Regions from separate parts of the Homo sapiens genome. Here region 2 is linked to region 1. The links are contacts of gene promoters, found by promoter capture Hi-C in blood cells and fetal thymus (Javierre and others, 2016). All regions are on one chromosome and are shown on one strand. The core of a region is centred on a gene start or on the middle of the fragment in contact, and the rest is flanking DNA. Distances in the headings are between cores, read along the strand shown. Region 1 holds the start of ARHGAP31 (Rho GTPase activating protein 31). Region 2 overlaps ARHGAP31 (Rho GTPase activating protein 31).

Region 1 (4,186 bases), core at 1,299-3,798:
GATATTAATATTTGGGGAAGTTGGGTGAAAGGTATATGGGAATTCCTTGACTATTTTTTTGTAAATTTTTTTTTTTTTGAGACGGAGTCTCGCTCTGTCACCCAAGCTGGAGTGCAGTGGCACCATCTCGGCTCACTGCAAGCTCCGCCTCCCGGGTTCACACCATTCTCCTGCCTCAGCCTCCCGAGTAGCTGGGACTGCAGGCGCCCGACACCACCATGCCCGGCTAATTTTTTTGTATTTTTAGTAGAGACGGGGTTTCACCGCGTTAGCCATGATGGTCTCGATCTCCTGACCTCGTGATTGCCCGCCTCGGCCTCCGAAAGTGCTGGGATTACAGGCGTGAACCACTGCGCCCGGCCTGTAAATTATTTATAAGCTGGAATTACTTGAAAGTGAAACATTAAAAGGAAGTTTTGAAATATTTAAAAAGGTAATTAACAGGGCTTGGCAATTTCTCCATTATTTGCACTCAGAAAAGGGGCTCTTTCAGCCTCTCTCTTTTGCTGACAAGATGATGAAATCCACGTAAGTCAGATGAAAGAATGAATGCAAAAGTCCTTGCTGAAGTAAACTGCTAAGCAAATGCTAATAGTGATCATTATAGTCCCATATGGAGCTGCTTCTCTATAAATAAAGGGAGGAACAAGCCATTGTACCAAATACCTTATCAGATACTCTCCAAGCAGTTTACAAAATGCTTAGAAATTGCTGCCCTAAAAGTAGGACTGGGGAGCTATTGAAAGGTTTTCAGCAAGGCAGGCAGGCATATAACAACAGCAATCCTTCAAGATGACTCCTCAAGCTTTTAATACATAGGATGGAGGAAGTGGAGGAGATTGGACTCAACAAATCCCACTAGGAGTTACTTTAATAATTGAGGAGTGGATGGTCCTCACTGAGTGGGCCTGGAAAGGAATAAACCAAGCTGAGAGGCATGGTGAAGAGCTCATCGTCTGGGCGGGACTACCTTGCAGGTGGGAGAGGAAGGAGACAAATGAGTCTGTGGTTACTTGAAGACATTTCACCAAGATGACTGGGGCAAATGCTTCTCAGTGTCACTGAGAGATGGAAAATGAAAAACAGGAAAGACAATTCATAGAGGTTGGGCTGCAAACTCAAGTGGCAGCAGAGGCCAGGCAGGTGCAAAAGGGGGAAGACAGGCCGTGGGGTCTGCAAAACTGCAAGAGTCGTCTCTCTAAAGAGGGTGCCTCCAAGGGGCCTGCCACAACTCAGCATCAGCCGTCCTTGCCATATGGGAATGCACTTGTGGTGTAACTAGATCTTCCATTTTTTCAAGAGAAGCCAGAAATTCAGATTTTATGTGAAATCTCTTAACTTTTTAATGCTAGCTACTAATTTTAAAACGTGTTAAAGCATGGTGTCTGCCAGCCAAGTACATCTATGGGCCAGATCTGGCAGGGTGGCTATCAAGTTGTGACCTCTGACATAGAGAAAATGTCAAGGGTCAAAGTTCATAGACTGTTAAGGTTACATAGAGAGACAGTGACTGTAAAGGGATTCAGTACCTAAAATGCTACGGATGCAGCTTTGCCAGCAATCTGAGCTGTATGACATATGCCCCTATCCTTCAAGCCTGTATATGGATTTGAATTTATACAGGAAGTTTCATCTAATCCTCAAATGGTTAAATCACAAGAATTTGAGTGCTTTCTGTGTGCTGAGTACACAGAAGTTAAAGAATTTAAAATCTAACTGGAGAAGAAAAAAACATGCCCTCTTGAAACAACTTGAAACAAATTATGAAAGAACCTGGGAGACTGCTTTCTTCACATTTCATGTGTCAGAGGCATCTTAAATCCTGGTTTGTCCCCCCCAAATCACTTCCATTTAGAAAACTTTGCAGTAGTGTGTGTGTGTGTCTTGAATATGTAACCAGAAATCTGATTTCCTGGGCAGTGGTTACAAAGCTGCAGCCTCTCTTTGCCCAGGGGTATCTTTACCCCAGAGTGGGAGGGGAGTGAGCTGAGGTGGGGGTGCACGAACGCTGCAGAGGAGGTTGGGATGGGAGTGGCCGGCGTGAAGCCACTGCCTGTCAGGTTTCTCCGCTGGAGTCCCCTGTTTGTCTCTGTCATTACTCTTTAAGTATTTGCGTAGCAGACAGGCGGGCACCGAAATAGAAAGTGTCAAAGATACGATGACAATGAGGATAAAACCAGGGCAGAGGGTTCTGAAAGTCCCAACCAGCACGGTCCCCGCAGAATGCCAGCGCACCTCCTCCCGCCACTTCAAAGAGCCGGCTCGGCGGGGCAGGAAGCGGCGGCTGCGGCTGCGGGTCCTGCGAGAAGAGCGCGATTTCCTCCGGGGCTGCCCAGTTATCTCTGGAGTCGCAGAACTGCTCTCGGGAGAACGCGTTCTCTACCCCAACCCCGTGCTCCTCAACCCACCCACCTACTTCCTCTAGCTCCACACACTCACAAGCACCGAGCTGCCAAAAATTTCCACCCACCGCCCCCCTCCCTAGCTAACTTCCTTCCAGCATTTCCTGAGCTGGATGATCCTAGGATTTGTAAGACAGGAAAAAAAGGAAGGCGTGAGGGCGGGCAGCAGCGACAGGATGCTTGTTTTTCGCTCTACCAAAGTCGTCTGAAGGCGAGACAGCGGGCCCAGGGCGCAGGACCCACCGCAGCCCCCTGGGCAGTCTCCTCGCCCCGCGTCCGCGTCGTCTCCGGGGCACTTAGTAAGGGGTGGGGAGAGCTTGCCCTCCCTCTTAAGCTGAGGAGAAACACCCGAAGACACCGCAGGAGCCTGTGAAAGTCCCTAGGACTCCAAGTGAGGAAGTGACACTCCCAGGCGAGCCGGCCCGCGGCTGCCAGTCTGCACGGCCTCGGCACGGCGGCCCCGGAGCGGCGCGGGGTGGATCTCAGGCTCTGCCGGCCCGCGGCCCGCGGGGTCCATGCGCAGGGCCCCCAGCCCAAGTTCTTCCATCTTCCGATGCGGCCCCCCAGAGCCGCGGGGCAGCCGGTGATCTAGCCCGGGAGCCCATCTTACAGCGGTGCCAAGCAGAGGGGCGGCAGAGACGGAGGGGCAGCCTCTTTGGGACTAACTCATGAAGAACAAGGGTGCTAAGCAGAAGCTGAAACGAAAGGGAGCCGCCAGCGCGTTTGGCTGTGACCTGACGGAGTATCTGGAAAGCTCGGGACAGGATGGTAATGTGCCTTGGCCTTTCTCCCCCGCCCCCACCTTCTTTTTGTTTGAGGGAGAGACGGACTCTCTCGAGTTGTGATAGAGTCGGTTCACAAGTTAATGTATTCCAGGCCTGTGCGCTCATTGCACTTTTTTTTCTTTTTTTTTTTTAAAGAACATAAACGATTCTTAAGGTGCACAGCGCTGCTGTCCCGACGCGCAGAGGCTGCTGTGTCAGTCCTTCCGTTTGCCTCACACAAGCTGTTAATGGGTGGTACTGCCGCAAGTTTACCGGGCCACCTCAGGGGATGGGGGTGGAAGCTGCAGAGGTCCCAATCCTAAACTTGGCACGTTGGAAGGGAGGGAGGAGGGGTGGACATGTGGGATGGTGATCAGTGGTCTTGCCTGGGTACAAAATCATGACCGCCTTAGCTGTCCCTCCTGGGCTCTCCAATTTCGTCTGCTCACATCTTTTTTTATTAATGTGTTAGAAGGCAGTTGCGGGTGGGGGGTGGGGGAGGATCCTGGCTGGGGGAGTGGTTGCACAAACATTTCTGAATTTCTGAGCTGATGCCAAATATATAGTACCTCCACCCCCTTTCCACAACCCCCTCCCCGCCCTGCAAGACCTTTTCCCTCCTCTTGGCTTTCAGATTAACATTTGGTGTGTCAGACAAGAAGAGTGTTGTAAAAAGGTCAGAGGGCCTCCATTTTTAAATAGTTTAGGGTAAGTAGAGAAAAGGAAAACTTCTCTGTTTTCAAGGTCAGATGGGGGTAGGGGGGAGTTGGGGATGGGGGAATCCAGCGGAGACAATTTAAACATTTGTTGGGGAAGGGGGAAAGAAAACACCATCTAGATTACAATAACAGCGTTTGAGCTTAGAAGTGTTTAATCATAGGAAAGTTGGAAAATTGAGCATTAAATGACTCCTTTTGTAAGGTTGACTGGTTTTGCACTTACCCTTGACAAAAAGGCCTTGTCTTCAGAAGCTTCAGCGAGAGGAAAATAGCCTACTATATAGGCCATGTGTTTATACAT
Region 2 (3,764 bases), core at 82-2,581, 65 kb after region 1:
AAGAAATCATAACCCAGCAAAGACCACCCAACTAAAAATGGACAAATTATCCAAATAGACATTTCTTCAAAAGAGATATACAAACGGCCAGTAAGCACAAGAAAAGATGTTCTACATTGTTATCAGGGAAATGCAAACCAAACTGCAATGATACCACTTCACAACTACTAGGATGACAATAAAAAAGATAGACAACAAGTCTTGACAAGGATATGGAAAATTGGAACCCTCATCCATTGCTGGTGGGAATGTAAAATGGCACAACTATTGTGGAAAACAGTTTGGCAGTGCCTCAAAAGTTAAATGTAGAGTCACCATACGACCTAGCCATTTCACCCCTTGGATATATATCCAAGAGAATTGAAAACATATATCCATACAAAAACTTGTACGTAAAGGTTCATAGCAACAATATTCCTAATAGCAAAAAGTGGAAATAACTCAAATTTCTATCAACTGGTGAATGAATAAACAAAATGAAGGCTTTATTTGGAATTTTATTCAGCCATAAAAATGAATGAAATACTGACACATGCTACAACATGGACGGACCTTGAAAACACTATGCTAAATAAAAGAAGTCCGTCACAAAGGCCACATATTTTAAGATCTCATTTATAGGAAATGTCCAAAACGGGCAAACCCATAGAAAATAGAACGTTGATTAGTGGCTGTTGGAGCTGGGAGAAGGGGAAATGGGCAGTAACTACTAATGGATATGGGTTCCTTTCTTGAGAGATGAAAATGTTCTGGAATTAATGTGATGATTGCTTAACTTGTGAATACACTAAAAATCACTTAGTCGTACACTTTAAAGGGTGAATTATATGGTATTTTAATTATATTTCAGTTTTTTTGTTTTTAACTTTTTTTTTTTTTTGAGACAGAGTCTCACTCACTCTGTCACCCAGGCTAGAGTGCAATGGTTTGATCTCAGCTCACTGCAACCTCTGATTCCCAGGTTCAAGCGATTCTCCTGCCTCAGCCTCCTGAGTAGCTGGGATTATAGGCGTGCACCACCATGCCCGGCTAGTTTTTGTAGTTTTAGTAGAGACGAGGTTTCACTGTATTGGGTAGGCTGGTCTTGAACTCCTGACCTCAGGTGATCCACCTGCCTTGGCCTCCCAAAGTGCTGGGATTATAGGCAGCCTGAGCCACTGTGACTGGCCTATATCTCAGGTTTAAAAAGAAAAAATAAAATGCTTAAAAGGAAACTTTTCTCCAAGGAGGACAAGCCAAAGCCTCAACATATTTTTAAATTTTTTTTCTTAGAAAATTAGAAAGTGGTTCATTTGTTTTTTTTTTTAAAGAACAGAACACATTATACTTTGTTAAATAAATACCACAACTTTTCAACATTTATTTAATTCCACATGAAGCCAGGAAGAAAAGAGTAGAAAGAAGTTAAAACAGGGAGGAGGAAGGAGACTCAGAGGGAAAATTGGGGTGGGCAGTGACCTCCAGGCAGGGAGAGCCTCGCAGAGGCCAGGGAGGAGCATGGGACAGAGGAGTGGAACAGGGATGGGGAAAGGATGGGACAGGAACAAAGAACAGAGGCTGGCAGAGAGAGCTCTTGGATTCTGGGGGGGAAACGCCTAGGAAGTTCTGTACTCACAACCCAGAGAAATGAGGAAGTAATGTAAATCTTTACTGCGTCTCTTGGGAAAATGCTGAAGAGGGGGCCCATTCACAGCACAGCAAAATTGTTTAAAAATCCCCCCTCTCTCCCGTGTGCATCGCAACAGATGCTTACAGGATTTCTTCCTGTGCAGTGTCTTGTCTCCCTCATTATCTTACCCTCTTCCCTCAAGTATCATTATTCTTTGCCCACCGGCAGCTCTTGGTCCTTTTTATTACCTCAAACAAGATGATGAACATATCCATCACGCCCAAATGTTTCCTCCGGCTCCTTTGTCATTCCTCCCTCCTGCCTCTTCCCTGCTTTCTCTTCCTACAAGTTAGTTTGCATTTTCTACAGTTTTACATAAATGGAATCCTACCCTATGTAGTCTTTCATAGTCTGGCTTCTATCACCCAGCCGAGTGTCTTTGAGCTGCACTCACAGGCTTTATCACTCCTTGTTGTTGCCGAGTATATTATATTGTGTGTACACACCACTAGACTTTACTTTGAAGGTCAGGAATGCAGGATCCAGAGAGGGGACGAAATCTGACCAAGTCAAGACCTTAACAAAATCCAGAATGGAGATGGGGGAGTGCCTGTTTCCCTAAAACACAAATGCCATTTGCACTATGAAAGAATGTGGCCACCACAACCACGTAAATGACCAAATACAACTGTGCTTCTTTCAATCTCTGTCTCCAGGTCTGATCAGGTCCCAGGCACACAGGGAACTGAGGCAGCTTAGCAGTGTTATGACTTCTGGGGGTGACTTCGAGAAATGTTTGACTTCTGGCCTTTTCTGCATTAAACCCTTCAAGAGGTTAGGACATGAGGAAAACATGCCATGTTATTTATAAGTGTAAAATATCTGTTAGTAGGAAATAAATAAAACAAAGGACTGTATAATATTTTATGAACTGTAAAGCATAAATCAAAGGCAAGATTTTCTTTTCCCTCAGAAACCTCTTCAAGTTGTATTTTGTGCTCAGATTAAAATTTAACATTTAAGATAACTGATCTAGGAAAAACAAAACAAAACAAGGGAGTTAGAGGGCCATAAGTGAAATGATTCTAAGAAGCTATGATATTATGTCATCAGCAGCAACTATGTGTACCTCTGTAGGAGGAGACTCAGAGTTCTATGGGCCCAGGATGAATCCCACAGAATGAGCTCTGTGACTCTGACCTCCAGCGTCAGTCCTTCCCATGCCTAAATCGACAATAGAAGCTTTCTTTCTGTCTATAACTACTCAGCTATTTTGATCAAGCTTCTACCCTGTCCAGAATCCTAGGGTGTCCCCAATCTGATAGGACCCCTGGGACAATAGTTTAAAGAATTCTGAGACTTTGAGACTTAACAATAGCCACTGCAACACTACCCTCCAGGGCTATTTTCAGACCCTTGCTATTCTGAGTGTGAGCTGCAGATTAGCAGTACCTGCATGACCTGGAATTTGTTAGAAAGGCAAATTCTCAACACTCCTACCACCTGCCTCCCTACTGAATTGCAATATGCATATCAGTGAAATCCCCAGGTGATTTTATGCACATTAAGGTATGTGAGAAGCCCTGGTCTAGACTAGTGGTTCTTCAACATTCCTTTTTTTTTTTTTTTTTTTAAGACAGAGTCAGAGTCTAGCTTTGTCGCCCAGTCTGGAGTTCAGTGGTGCAATCTTGGCTCACTGCAACCTCTGCCTCCCAGGTTCAAGTGATTCTCCTGCCTCAGGCTCCCAAGTAGCTGGGAGTACAGGCACCCGCCACCACACCTGGCAAATTTTTGCATTTTTAGTAGAGATGGGATTTCACAGTGTTGGTCAGGCTGGTCTCAAACTCCTGACCTCAAGTGATCCACCCACCTTGGCCTCCCAAAGTGCTGGGATTACAGGCGTGAGCCACTGTGCCCAGCGGTCCTTCAACTTTCGAGTACATCAGAATCATCCGGAGGATGCCGGGCTGCAGGACTTGATCCAGGGACCACAGTCTGAGAACCGCTGCTCTAATGTCTAGAGCTGGATGATTACACAGAGATTGAGTCCTTTCCCATTACTGAGTAACAACGATGGAGAATTCCTACATCTTCCAACTCAGCCCAAGATGAGAAATCCAGGAAAGCTAACACTTCACAGTGATTGGGACCATGA

Evidence for each region. Contacts are between HindIII fragments. The CHiCAGO score rates a contact against its expected background, and 5 or more counts as called.
Region 2: a fragment that was not itself captured here is called in contact with the fragment with the promoter of ARHGAP31 in region 1 in 4 of 17 cell types (activated CD4 T cells, monocytes, endothelial precursors and 1 more); the score reaches 6.6 in activated CD4 T cells.

Annotation. Positions count from the first base shown.
Region 1 is chr3:119,291,835-119,296,020 of GRCh38, forward strand. It overlaps ARHGAP31 (Rho GTPase activating protein 31), which reads left to right and starts at 2,549. Exons shown (of 12, transcript NM_020754.4): 1 at 2,549-3,170. The coding sequence starts at 3,071. RefSeq lists an enhancer at 1,972-2,021 and a silencer at 2,862-2,981. The HindIII fragment of the contact is 3,332 bases long and covers 804-4,135 here.
Region 2 is chr3:119,358,152-119,361,915 of GRCh38, forward strand. The region is part of intron 1 of ARHGAP31 (Rho GTPase activating protein 31); the gene reads left to right. Among named protein-coding and RNA genes, the nearest start is that of ARHGAP31-AS1, 37 kb to the left of the region's middle. RefSeq lists an enhancer at 2,701-3,372. The HindIII fragment of the contact is 3,035 bases long and covers 1-2,849 here.